Regions from separate parts of the Homo sapiens genome. Here region 1 is linked to region 2. The links are contacts of gene promoters, found by promoter capture Hi-C in blood cells and fetal thymus (Javierre and others, 2016). All regions are on one chromosome and are shown on one strand. The core of a region is centred on a gene start or on the middle of the fragment in contact, and the rest is flanking DNA. Distances in the headings are between cores, read along the strand shown.

The links. The method cuts DNA at HindIII sites, captures the fragments that hold promoters and counts their contacts. A CHiCAGO score of 5 or more calls a contact.
Region 1: a contact is called between a fragment that was not itself captured here and the fragment with the promoter of IRF2BPL in region 2, in 1 of 17 cell types (M0 macrophages). The highest score is 6.7, in M0 macrophages.

The regions. Positions count from the first base shown.
Region 1 is chr14:75,281,193-75,287,505 of GRCh38, reverse strand. FOS (Fos proto-oncogene, AP-1 transcription factor subunit) reads right to left here. Exons shown (of 4, transcript NM_005252.4): 4 at 5,276-6,313. The coding sequence ends at 6,082. Among named protein-coding and RNA genes, the nearest start is that of FOS, 5.5 kb to the right of the region's middle. RefSeq lists enhancers at 5,689-6,248, 6,249-6,313. The HindIII fragment of the contact is 1,187 bases long and covers 2,969-4,155 here.
Region 2 is chr14:77,027,458-77,031,961 of GRCh38, reverse strand. It overlaps IRF2BPL (interferon regulatory factor 2 binding protein like), which reads left to right and starts at 3,254. Exons shown (of 1, transcript NM_024496.4): 1 at 3,254-4,504. The coding sequence starts at 4,170. LOC107984638 (a long non-coding RNA gene) reads right to left here and starts at 4,494. Exons shown (of 4, transcript NR_190002.1): 1 at 4,151-4,494; 2 at 2,482-2,674; 3 at 2,226-2,301; 4 at 390-2,135. It overlaps LOC105370579 (a long non-coding RNA gene), which reads left to right. Exons shown (of 2, transcript NR_169510.1): 2 at 1-403. RefSeq lists an enhancer at 1,681-2,201 and silencers at 2,965-3,094, 3,295-3,504, 3,625-4,124. The HindIII fragment of the contact is 11,624 bases long and covers 1-4,504 here.

The sequences.
Region 1 (6,313 bases), core at 2,313-4,812, 1.7 Mb after region 2:
ATAATTTTGTTTGTTTCTTTGAAAATGATTATATCTAAATTTATATATGCATTCATTCTGCATTTAATAGCGAAACAATTTCTCAACCTATAATTAGCCTAGAAGTGTCACTGACCTACAGCTTACTTGTATTTTTTGTACCCCTTAAAATTCTTTCCCAAGCTAGCTAGCTCCTCATCTTAATATTGTAGAATCCTCGAAGGCAATTTTTTTAAACAAATGGGCATACTCTTCTACCCTGAAAAAAATCTGTGAAGTATATAGTTTATCTTCACTTTAAGTTCTAGCTATGTCCCTGTCAATATTTTTGTAATTTTCATCTGCATTCATTCACTCATTCATCTTCTTTATTCAACATGCACTTGAGGGCCTAATAGACACTAGAGATACAAATGTGATCAAGACAGAAAAGGTTCCCGCTCACATGGAACTTACAGTTCAGGGATAAGAGACAGACAATTTTCTTTTTTTTTTGAGACAGGGTCTTGCTCTGTCACCCAGGTTAGAGTGCATTGGCACGATCTTGGCTCACTGCAACCTACACCTCCTGGGTTCAAGCGATTCTCCTGCCTAAGCCTCCTGAGTAGCTGGGATTACAGGTGCACACCACCCACCCCCAGCTAATTTTTGCATTTTTAGTAGAGACAGGGTTTTGCCATGTTGGCCAGGCTGGTCTCGAACTCTTGACCTCAGGTAATCCGCCCACCTAGGTCTCCCAAAGTGCTGGGATTACAGGCGTGAGCTACTGCACCCGATGAGACAGACAATTTTTTAAAAGGAAAATAACACATAAATTAGATATTGCAAGTAGGGATACAGGCTGTGAAAAAACAAAGCAGGATAACTAAATAGAGAGTCCTAGGGAGCAAGTATGTCCCGAAGTCACCCTAGATAGAATGACCAGGGAAAGCCCCTTGGAGGACATGTCCTTTGAGCAGAGTCCCAAATGACAGGATGCCGCCAGCCTGGGGCAAGAGGCCCCGGCAGAGGGACTGCAAGTGCAGAGGCCCTGCTGCAGGAGTACGTGTTCTATGTGCCAGGAGTGGAAGGAAGGCTCGTGAGCAGAGTGCCTGTAGGGAAGAAGGAAAAGAGATAGAGTGGGAGAGGAATTAAAAGTCAACTTTTTTTTTTTTTTTTGGTGGAGGGGTGGTGTTTAGGAGTAGAGGTTTAATAAGCAAAAGAAAGAGAAAGGAGAATAACTCTCTCTTCAGTAGAGAGACAGGGGACCCTGAGTGAGACTTCCTAAAAGTCAACTCTTTAATATTAATAGGAAAACAGCACAATTTAAAGCATTCTGCTATTCAGCATTCAAGTGAGGCTCATATCTCTTTTTTTTTTTTTTTTTTTTTTTTTGAGGAGTTTGGTTACTCTGTTTGGAATGAGTCTCATACACCATTTAGAGATCAATTTTGTTTTAGCTTTTTTTCAACTGTAAAAACATTGAAACTTTAGACGATTACCTCAAGATAATCAACTGAGAACTTTTACTGTGCCTCAATTTTTTTTTGTCCGTTAATTAAAGATAGCATAATTGATTTACTTTCATTCACACATGGGAATTGCTGTTGATACAAAATTACTGTTATTAGAACAAATTGTTAAATCCTACCCTTTAATTTTGATAATTACACAAGATGCAGTGATGTGCAAAGATGATGCAGAATCTACAATCCACTATTCTACAGAGATAAATATTTTTCCTCTTCCCTCTTCCCATTGAAAATTAATTTGGAGCCAGAAGCCCAATGGCAGCTTTGAAGTTGAATTGGCAGAGGTCATCCAGGAAGACAGTGAAGGAATTCCAGGAGGCAAGGATGGGAATGGGGTATATTTTTGCAGCCAGACATAAAAGATGTAAAATTCCCATTGCTTAATATACTAACAGGGACCAGGAGAGGAGAAGTTAAAGAATATGTGTGGAATATATTTCTGTGTATGGAAATAGCACAGAATTTATTCATCCACTGGGCAAAATATTAATTAACCTTGTACCATGTGCCAGGCACTGAGCCAGTTCTGGGGATCCTGGTGAGCTAAACTGGACATAATCCCCATGAGGAAATGACTTCTGCCTCTATCCCCTTCAATTATATGTATATGTCTTTAGCAATGTTGAATAGTGGTGCCCTCTGGTAGTTGTTTTCTTTTTTGTTTGTTTTTTGTTTTTTTGAGACAGAGTTTCACGCTTGTCACCCAGGCTGGAGTGCAATGGCATGATCTCAGCTCACTGCAAGCTCCGCCTCCCAGGTTCATGCCATTCTCCTACCTCAGCCTCCCGAGTAGCTGGGATTACAGGTGCCCGCCACCACACCCAGCTAATTTTTTTGTATTTTTAGTAAAGACGGGGTTTCACTATGTTGGCCAGGCTGGTTTCGAACTCCTGACCTCAGGCGATCCACCCACCTTGGCCTCCCAAAGTGTTGGGATTACAGGTGTGAGCCACCGCGCCTGGCAGGTAGTTGTTTTATTGAGATTAGCATGAGGCCATAGCTTGTGGGTAGGAATCCGACAAAGTCTTTTTCAAAAGAAAGTTGAAGGCCAGGTATGGTGGCTCACATCTGTAATCCCAGCACTTTGGGGACCAAGGTTGGGGGGATCACTTGAGGTCAGGAGTTCGAGGCCAGCCTGGCCAACATGGTGAAACCCTGTCTCTACTAAAAATACAAAAATTAGCCAGGAGTGGTGGCAGTTGCCTGTAATTCCAGCTACTCAGGAGGCTGAGGCAGGAGAATCACTTGAAGCCGGGAGGCGGAGGTTGAAGTGAGCCGAGATGGCAGCAGAGCGAGACCCTGCCTAAAAAACAAAAAAAATAAACAAAAAACAAAAACAAAAAATTTCCCAGAGTTAATAATCCCTGAGAGTTGTCCAGTCCTGAGTGAGTAAAAGGGATTTGGAAGGAGCCATTTAGCTGGAGAAAGGAGGAAGGAATTTCTTCTCTCAAGCCCATGAAAGTGGTCAGCAGGAAGCTTGGTGGGATGTCAACCCTGGGGATCCGATGGTCTCTGATTTCCTCTTTCTGGACCTTTAACGCCATCTTGATGTAGCAGCCTGGTCTCCACTGGGCTGTGCAATAAGCTAGAGCAAGGGTCTGTGTCTGGGCCTTGGCCAGGGCTGTCAAAGGGAAAGCAATGCTCACCCTCTAGAGTAAGCATGGGGCTGACAGGGACCATGATTGAGGTCCCCAGGAGCAGGTCAATGTCCGAAGGTCCAGCTGCCCTTCTTCATCTGGGAAATCGTCTTCCTTTTCTTCCTCTGGTTGTTATTATTGCACACCTACAGGAACCAGCTGGGTTCCTTTTTTTTTTTTTTTTTTTTTTTGAGATAGGGTTTTGCTGTGTCACCCAGGCTGGAGTGCAGTGGTGGTGCAATATCAGTTCTCTGCAACCTCCCCCTCCCAGGCTCAAGTCATACTCCTGCCTCAGCCTCCTGAGTAGTGTAGCTGGGACAACAGAAGCACACTGGGTTTTGCCATGTTGCCCAGGCTGGTCTCAAACTCCTGGACTCCAGTGATCCTCCTGTCTCAGCCTCCCAAAGTGCTGGAATTACAGGTGTGAGCCACCGCTCCTGGCCCACCAGCTGGGTTCCTTACAGGGTAGATCACCTTGTTATTTCAGACCAGGTGTTTGTTAGTTATATTAATTCTGTATTTAGTTTAGGTATATTTAAAGGCTATAAAATATTTGCCCTTTGAACAGCAAACAGGGATCCTAAGGCCACTGTCATCACAAGTCTAGCAGAAACAGCACCCCAAGTGGTGTGTGATATAGGAGTGATCTAAAGAGCGGTAAGTTGCTTTTAAATGTCCATTTTTATGGGAGGGGCAGAGATATCATAGACGAGAACATCAACCTCAGTAAAACTGTCATTTTGAATTAAAACTTTTAACTCGGTTGAATATGACACCCCATAAGCACCCAGTGATTTTCATTATCACCAAAGCATTAGAAGACTGGCGCTGAAGCTCTTCTTCCACCCAGTGTGTGTGAAAACATAGTGCATGGTGCCTGCATGATACTCGCGAGCAGAGGCAGAAGGGCGGTCTCCTTTCCCTGTGGTTTGTACGTGTGCATGTGTGTGTAAGTGCCCCATTACCAGAGACGTCCCGGACAAAGGTCACGTTCTTCCTTAAGATGATAAAGTTTCTAAGTTAAAGCTTGTTCAGAGTCATGTTGACTTCTCCTTCTTGAGCTATTATGTAACTTTTTGTTTGCAGAACGATCAGCCATTATTTGTGCTGTTTGAGATATCTTTTGATTTCTGAGCAACTTTTTCTCCCCCACTTCCGCCCACTATAAACTGAATGAAGGGCATATGGTATTAGAGAAACCAGAAACCACAATGCATTTATTAATAAGGGATAGGGCAATAGCCCTCCTTCCCTTTCGAGAATAAAAGAGTACAAAAAAATGTACACATTAGTGAAAACTTTTTTTTTTAAACAGAGTTTCAATCTTGTTGCCCAGGCTGGAGTGCAATGGCGCAATCTCAGTTCGCTGCAACATCCGCCTCCCGAGTTCAAGTGATTTTCCTGTCTCAGCCTCTCAAGTAGCTAGGATTACAGGCATGCACCACCACACCAGGCTAATTTTGTATTTTTAGTAAAGACGGGGTTTCTCCATGTTGGTCAGGCTGGTCTCGAACTCCCGACCTCAGGTGATCCGCCTGCCTCGGCCTCCCAAAGTGCTAGGATTACAGGCATGGGCCACCGCGCCCGGCCTGAAAATTTTTTTTAACCAAGTATCAAGAGGCAGTTCAGCCTGCTGGATACGATAACGAGCAGGAAGATTCTAATGCCGATAACGGAATATCAAGAAAGTTGTTTATTCTAACCATTCTTCAATTTGCTCATCTTTGAAGTAGAATAACCCTCCACGTGATTTTGTGAGAATAAAAAGTTAAAATAGTCTGTACAAAGCTAGGTTCTGTTTGCTTAAAGGGTTCCTTTAAGATCAAAACATCTGAATTTAATATTAGCACAACAAAATTTAAATATTTCCCCCTGCGAGTACTGAAACAGAAAAAATGTATTCCCACAAAAGCTGTTACACAGCGGTTTCCCGTCCCCAGAAGCAGTAGAAAATCTTAGCATTCCAATGGAAGGCATGTATTTGTAAAATATTCTAAAATCAGCTCTATAGTTTCCTTGTCCTCTTTGATAAGGGATCAGACAGAGGGTGTGTCCCCCTCCAGCAGCTACCCTTCTTGACAAACTGGTCTCCAATAATACCTTTCAGAAACTTACAAGACTTCCAGAATGAAAAGAGCACAAGGTTGGTCGCATTCAACTTAAATGCTTTTATTGACAATGTCTTGGAACAATAAGCAAACAATGCTTAAATTTTTCATTCAAATTCACTTTCCACATGTCAAAAGACCTCAAGGTAGAAAAAAATAAAATAAAAATATAAATATCTGAGAATCCATCTTAATAAATAAATTAAAAACACAATAAAACGTTTTCATGGAAAACTGTTAATGTCAGAACATTCAGACCACCTCAACAATGCATGATCAGTAACATTACAATGAACATTGATGTTGAAGAAAAACTACAGTACATGGATATAGCTATTTATTTCTATCTACCAGAAAATAAAGTCGTATCTTTTCTTAGTATAATATTGGTCATTTCTAATCAGAACACACTATTGCCAGGAACACAGTAGTTATTGTTAAAATCAGCTGCACTAGATACAATTTGAAAATATCCAGCACCAGGTTAATTCCAATAATGAACCCAATAGATTAGTTAATGCTATGAGAAGACTAAGGAGAAAGAGAAAAGAGACACAGACCCAGGCCTGGCTCAACATGCTACTAACTACCAGCTCTCTGAAGTGTCACTGGGAACAATACACACTCCATGCGTTTTGCTACATCTCCGGAAGAGGTAAGGACTTGAGTCCACACATGGATGCTTTCAAGTCCTTGAGGCCCACAGCCTGGTGTGTTTCACGCACAGATAAGGTCCTCCCTAGGTCTACAGGAACCCTCTAGGGAAGATGTGTTTCTCCTCTCTGTAATGCACCAGCTCGGGCAGTGGCACTTGTGGGTGCCGGCTGCCTCCCCTTCCCTGCCCCCTCACAGGGCCAGCAGCGTGGGTGAGCTGAGCGAGTCAGAGGAAGGCTCATTGCTGCTGCTGCCCTTGCGGTGGGCAGCTGCACAGCTGGGGAAGGAGTCAGCCTCGGGGTAGGTGAAGACGAAGGAAGACGTGTAAGCAGTGCAGCTGGGAGTACAGGTGACCACCGGAGTGCACAGGGGCTCCAGCTCTGTGGCCATGGGCCCCATCCCCAGGGAGCCACTGTGCAGAGGC
Region 2 (4,504 bases), core at 2,005-4,504:
GGGGATGTCAAACCATTTCCCACCCCTATGTTTTGACTCACTCCAGGGTAGCGGTAGTGTGGGGAGGGCTGAAGTCTGGGAGAGTGAGGCAATGCTCCCCAAGCAACTCTTTGCAGAGGAATCACTGCAAAGTGCCAGCAGGCCAGAGAAAGTTTATTATTGCTCTAGAGTGCACAGTGAGCTCACTGTTTTGCAAAAACAGAAATCTGGCTGCTTTGAGATGAAAGAGGGGCTCCCTAGGGCTCCTCCTCCTCTTCTGTCCTTAAAAACTCGCCTTTCCTTTGCACTCAGGGGCCCCAGAATGAGTGGGAGATTGGGGCTCTGGGGAGGGTTGGATAGGGGAACAGGCTCTGGAAGTCAAGTGTCAAAATAAAAGTAAGTATCTCTTGTTGCTTCCACTGAACTTTATTGCAATTACTAGTAATAAGAGTGATAATAGTGATCCTCACAATTTATGCAGTTTACTAAGTACTGTCACATGTCAACCAGCAATAGTACCAACACTAGTATCAATACTAATAATAACTAACACTAACTGTGAGTCCAACACTGCTCTCCATTCTGTATGGTGTATTTAAGTTACAGTCTGGTAGTGACAGATCTACAACTTCTGTATATAGAACTCAGTGGTACAAATGCGCTTGGAAGGGGAGGCTGGGGGTTGGTTATGAAGGTGTATTGGCATAGTACTTACGTAAGATTGTATGTAACACCAAATCAACTGGGGCTGATGGGAATTTTGAGCACCCCAAACCACCTCTGCAAGCCTGAGCTTGTCAAAGACACCTCAAATCAGATTTACTGGATTCAAATCCCAGCCCCATCACTAATGGCTGTAGGCAAGTTATATAGCCTCTTTACTTTCCTGGTTTGTAAAATGGAGGTAAAAGAATCTACCCTGTAGATAATATTAAGGGTTTAATACTGTAATAGGCCGGTCACGGTGGGTCATGCCTGTAATCCCAGCACTTTGGGAGGCTGAGGCGGGAGGATCACCTGAGGTCAGGAGTTCGAGACCAGCCTGGCCAACATGGTGAAAGTCCGTCTCTACTAAAAATACAAAAATGAGCTGGGTGTGGTGGCGGGCGCCTGTATCCCCAGGTACTTGGGAGACTGAGGCAGGAGAATTGCTTGAACCTGGGAGGTGGAGGTTGCAGTGAGCTGAGATTGCGTCACTGTACTCCAGCCTGGGTGACAGAGTGGACTCTGTCTCAAAACAACAACAAAATACTATAGATAATATCCCCTTAATAATGTAGATAATATTAAGGGTGATGCAAGTAAAGCCACCTAGTTTACTAAGGTCCCACGGCAAGTCTAAGTAAGCGTTATCTCTTCTTATGACAAGAAACAAATTGAGGCCGGGTGAGGTGGCTCATGCCTGTAATCCCAACACTTTGGGAGGCCAAGGTGGGTGCATCACTTGGGCCCAGGAGTTTGAGACCAGCCTGGGCAACACGGCAAAACCCCATCCCTTTCCAAAAATACAAAAAAATTGGCCAGGTGTAATGGCACATGCCTGTAGTCCCAGCTACTAGGGAGGCTGAGGTGGGAGGATTACTTGAGCCTGGGAGGTCAGGCTGCTGCCAGCCGCGAGTGTGCCACTGCACTCCAGCCTGGGCAACAGAACAAGATCCTATCTCAAAAAAACAAAAAACCGAAGTTGAAATCTCAAACAACCCTAACAACCTGGGAGCTATCATTCCATTCTCTTTTCCATGGAAAAGAGAGATTTTGTGGGTAACTAGCTTAAGGGTGGAGAGCCAGTTAGTGATGGAGAGGAAATTTCAATCTGGTGGGCCACACTTCAGAATCCGAAATCCCATTATATTGCTTTCCCTTCTCCAGCCTTCCCTGGGATTATCTCAGTTTTCATGAAATAAAAAAAAAAAAAAAAGCAAACCCAATAATTAGAATAATCAATAGAAATGCCCCAACTAGAGCTATGACCAACATATCCATCGTGCCATAAGCAATACTGATGAGCAGTGATCTTGTAAGGCAGAAGAAATCACGGCCTTGGCCGGGCGTGGTGGTTCATGCTTGTAATCCCAGCACTTTGGAAGGCCGAGGCGGGAGGATCACCTGAGGTCAGGAGTTCAAGACCAGCTGGCTAACATGGTGAAACCATGTCTCTACAAAAATACAAAAAATTAGCTGGGCCTGATGGCGGGTGCCGGTAATCACAGCTACTTGGGAGGCTGAGGCGGAAGAATCGCTTGAACCTGCGAGGCAGAGGTTGCAGTGAGCCGAGATCGCGCCATTTTGCACTCCAGCCTGGGCGACAGAGCAAGACTCCGTCTTAAAAAAAAAAAAAAAAAAAAATCACGGCCTTGTTCCGCCTTCTGGGGCAACATGGAGTGAGATCACAGCGCCTGAGAAAGAACTTTGAAAACTGCGGCTGTGCTTTACAAAAATGTATCAGTATTATTAAATGCTGCCTCCACCTTTTAAAAATCAAACTCTAGAAAAAACACTCACCTGTTTGGCCTCTCCGGCCCCTCCCCCTCCCTGCCCTGAACTGCAGCTGTGCGCAGCCAGTTGCCTGTTTTCCTTAAAGGCCTCGGGGTGCTCGTATCTTCTTCAGACGTTCAGCCAAAATTTTTAAAGTGCGGCTGGGGGGAAGGGTAGCGCACTCTGAATTCATTTAGCTCTATCGTTGAAGCCCGGGTTCCTAGATCAGGGCACAAAAACAAATAGAAAAGACAATTTCTGGAAGATTGGAAAACAGCTAATTTTGCAGGTGCTTCGGCATCAGTGGTGGCGATGAATTTAACATCCATGCCGGGGGGGATAAGGTTCAACCGCAGATGAAATGGTTAATACCTTATACGAAATTCACGGCGAAAAATCCTGAAACAGGACATTTAAATTCACTGCCGAGGCTTGGGGGTGGGGTGGGGAGCAGGGATCGGAAACGACGCTAGTGGTTCTTAAATGCGTTTTTACTTGGGAATGCCCGGCAGGGAAAGGAAAGGTCATCGTCTGTTTAATTTCCACCCCCAGCTCTGGACTTCCAGCATTAGCTCGCCGGGCCTCAGCTGTTGTACACACACGGCGAGGGGGGAGGGGAGGGCGGAGGCGCGGAGGAGGGGCCGGCTGGGAGGAATCTGGGCGTCCTGCCGCGCATGCGCCTTGCCTGAGCAACAAGTGGGCTCCACAGAGGAAGTGTAAAGGGGAGGGGGAAGAACTGGTGCAGAGCATGGCGGTGACGTCAGCGCTCCGCCCGGGCGGCATCCCGCGCGGCCAAGCCGGGGACAGCGCGAGCCGCAGCCGGAGCAGGAGCGCCGAGACGCGCCTCCGGAACGTAGAGTAACAATCACAACCCCACATTCCGGGCGAGCGTGAGCACGAGCGGGAAGGGATGCGACCCGGGCCGAGGCGCCGCGCGAGCGCCCTGCAGCCAACGTGAGCGCCGCCAGCCGCGGCGGCCCGGGCGCCGGCCAGGCCTGGGGGCGGCGGGAGCCTGCGTGCGTGCACTCCTCTCCTCTGCTCTCGTGCGTCCTGGAAGCAGTGGCCGCGGCGGCTCCCTCCGGGGTGCAAACCCAGTCGCCGCCAGCAGAACGGCCGACGCTGCGGAGGGGAGAAGGTCCTTTCTCGGCTGCCACCCCCTCCCCCGGTCCTCCGGGGAAGCAGCGGCTTCAGCAAGATTGGACCCGGGCACCGGGTGGCACTGAACCCTCTGGCCCTCGCCCCAGGGGGCCCGTCGGGGAGAGGACGCAGCTCGTAGGGGGGTCCCCGGGGAGAGGAAGAGACAGCCCCTTTCGAGCTTCCACGCACCAGCCACTCCGGGGAGGGGGCCAAGAGGCAACGGCGGCCACCACCGGGCACCCTCGCCCCCTCCCCTCGGGCCGGGAGCTTCCAGCCCAAGTCTGCAGCACCAGGAAGAAGGCGCCTGAGCTCCCCTCGCGACGAGTCAACCGCAGTAGGAGGTGGGGGCGAAGAGAGGGCTGAACCCGTCCGCTGCCCGGGCGGTGGAGCCCCCACGGCGAGGCGCTGCGCCGGCGGTGGAGACTCGCGTTCCCTCCAGCCCCTGGGGCAGAACTTTCTCGCCCCCCCTCCTCCCTCCCCCGCAGTCGGACTCCCTCCCCAGCCGGCCAGTCCTCCCGGAGGAGAAGGCGCCGCGGAGACAGCCCGGGCGGGGGCCTACCTTCCCCAGGGCAGGCATCATGTCGGCGGCGCAGGTGTCCTCGTCCCGGAGACAATCTTGCTACCTGTGCGACCTGCCCCGCATGCCCTGGGCCATGATCTGGGACTTCTCGGAACCCGTATGCCGCGGTTGCGTCAACTACGAGGGCGCTGATCGCATCGAATTCGTGATCGAGACAGCGCGCCAGCTGAAGCGGGCGCACGGCTGCTTCCAGGACGGCCGCTCCCCCGGGCCGCCGCCGCCCGTCGGGGTCAAGACAGTGGCCCTGTCGGCTAAGGAAGCGGCGGCGGCGGCGGCAGCAGCGGCGGCCGCCGCCGCCGCCGCGCAACAGCAACAGCAACAGCAGCAGCAGCA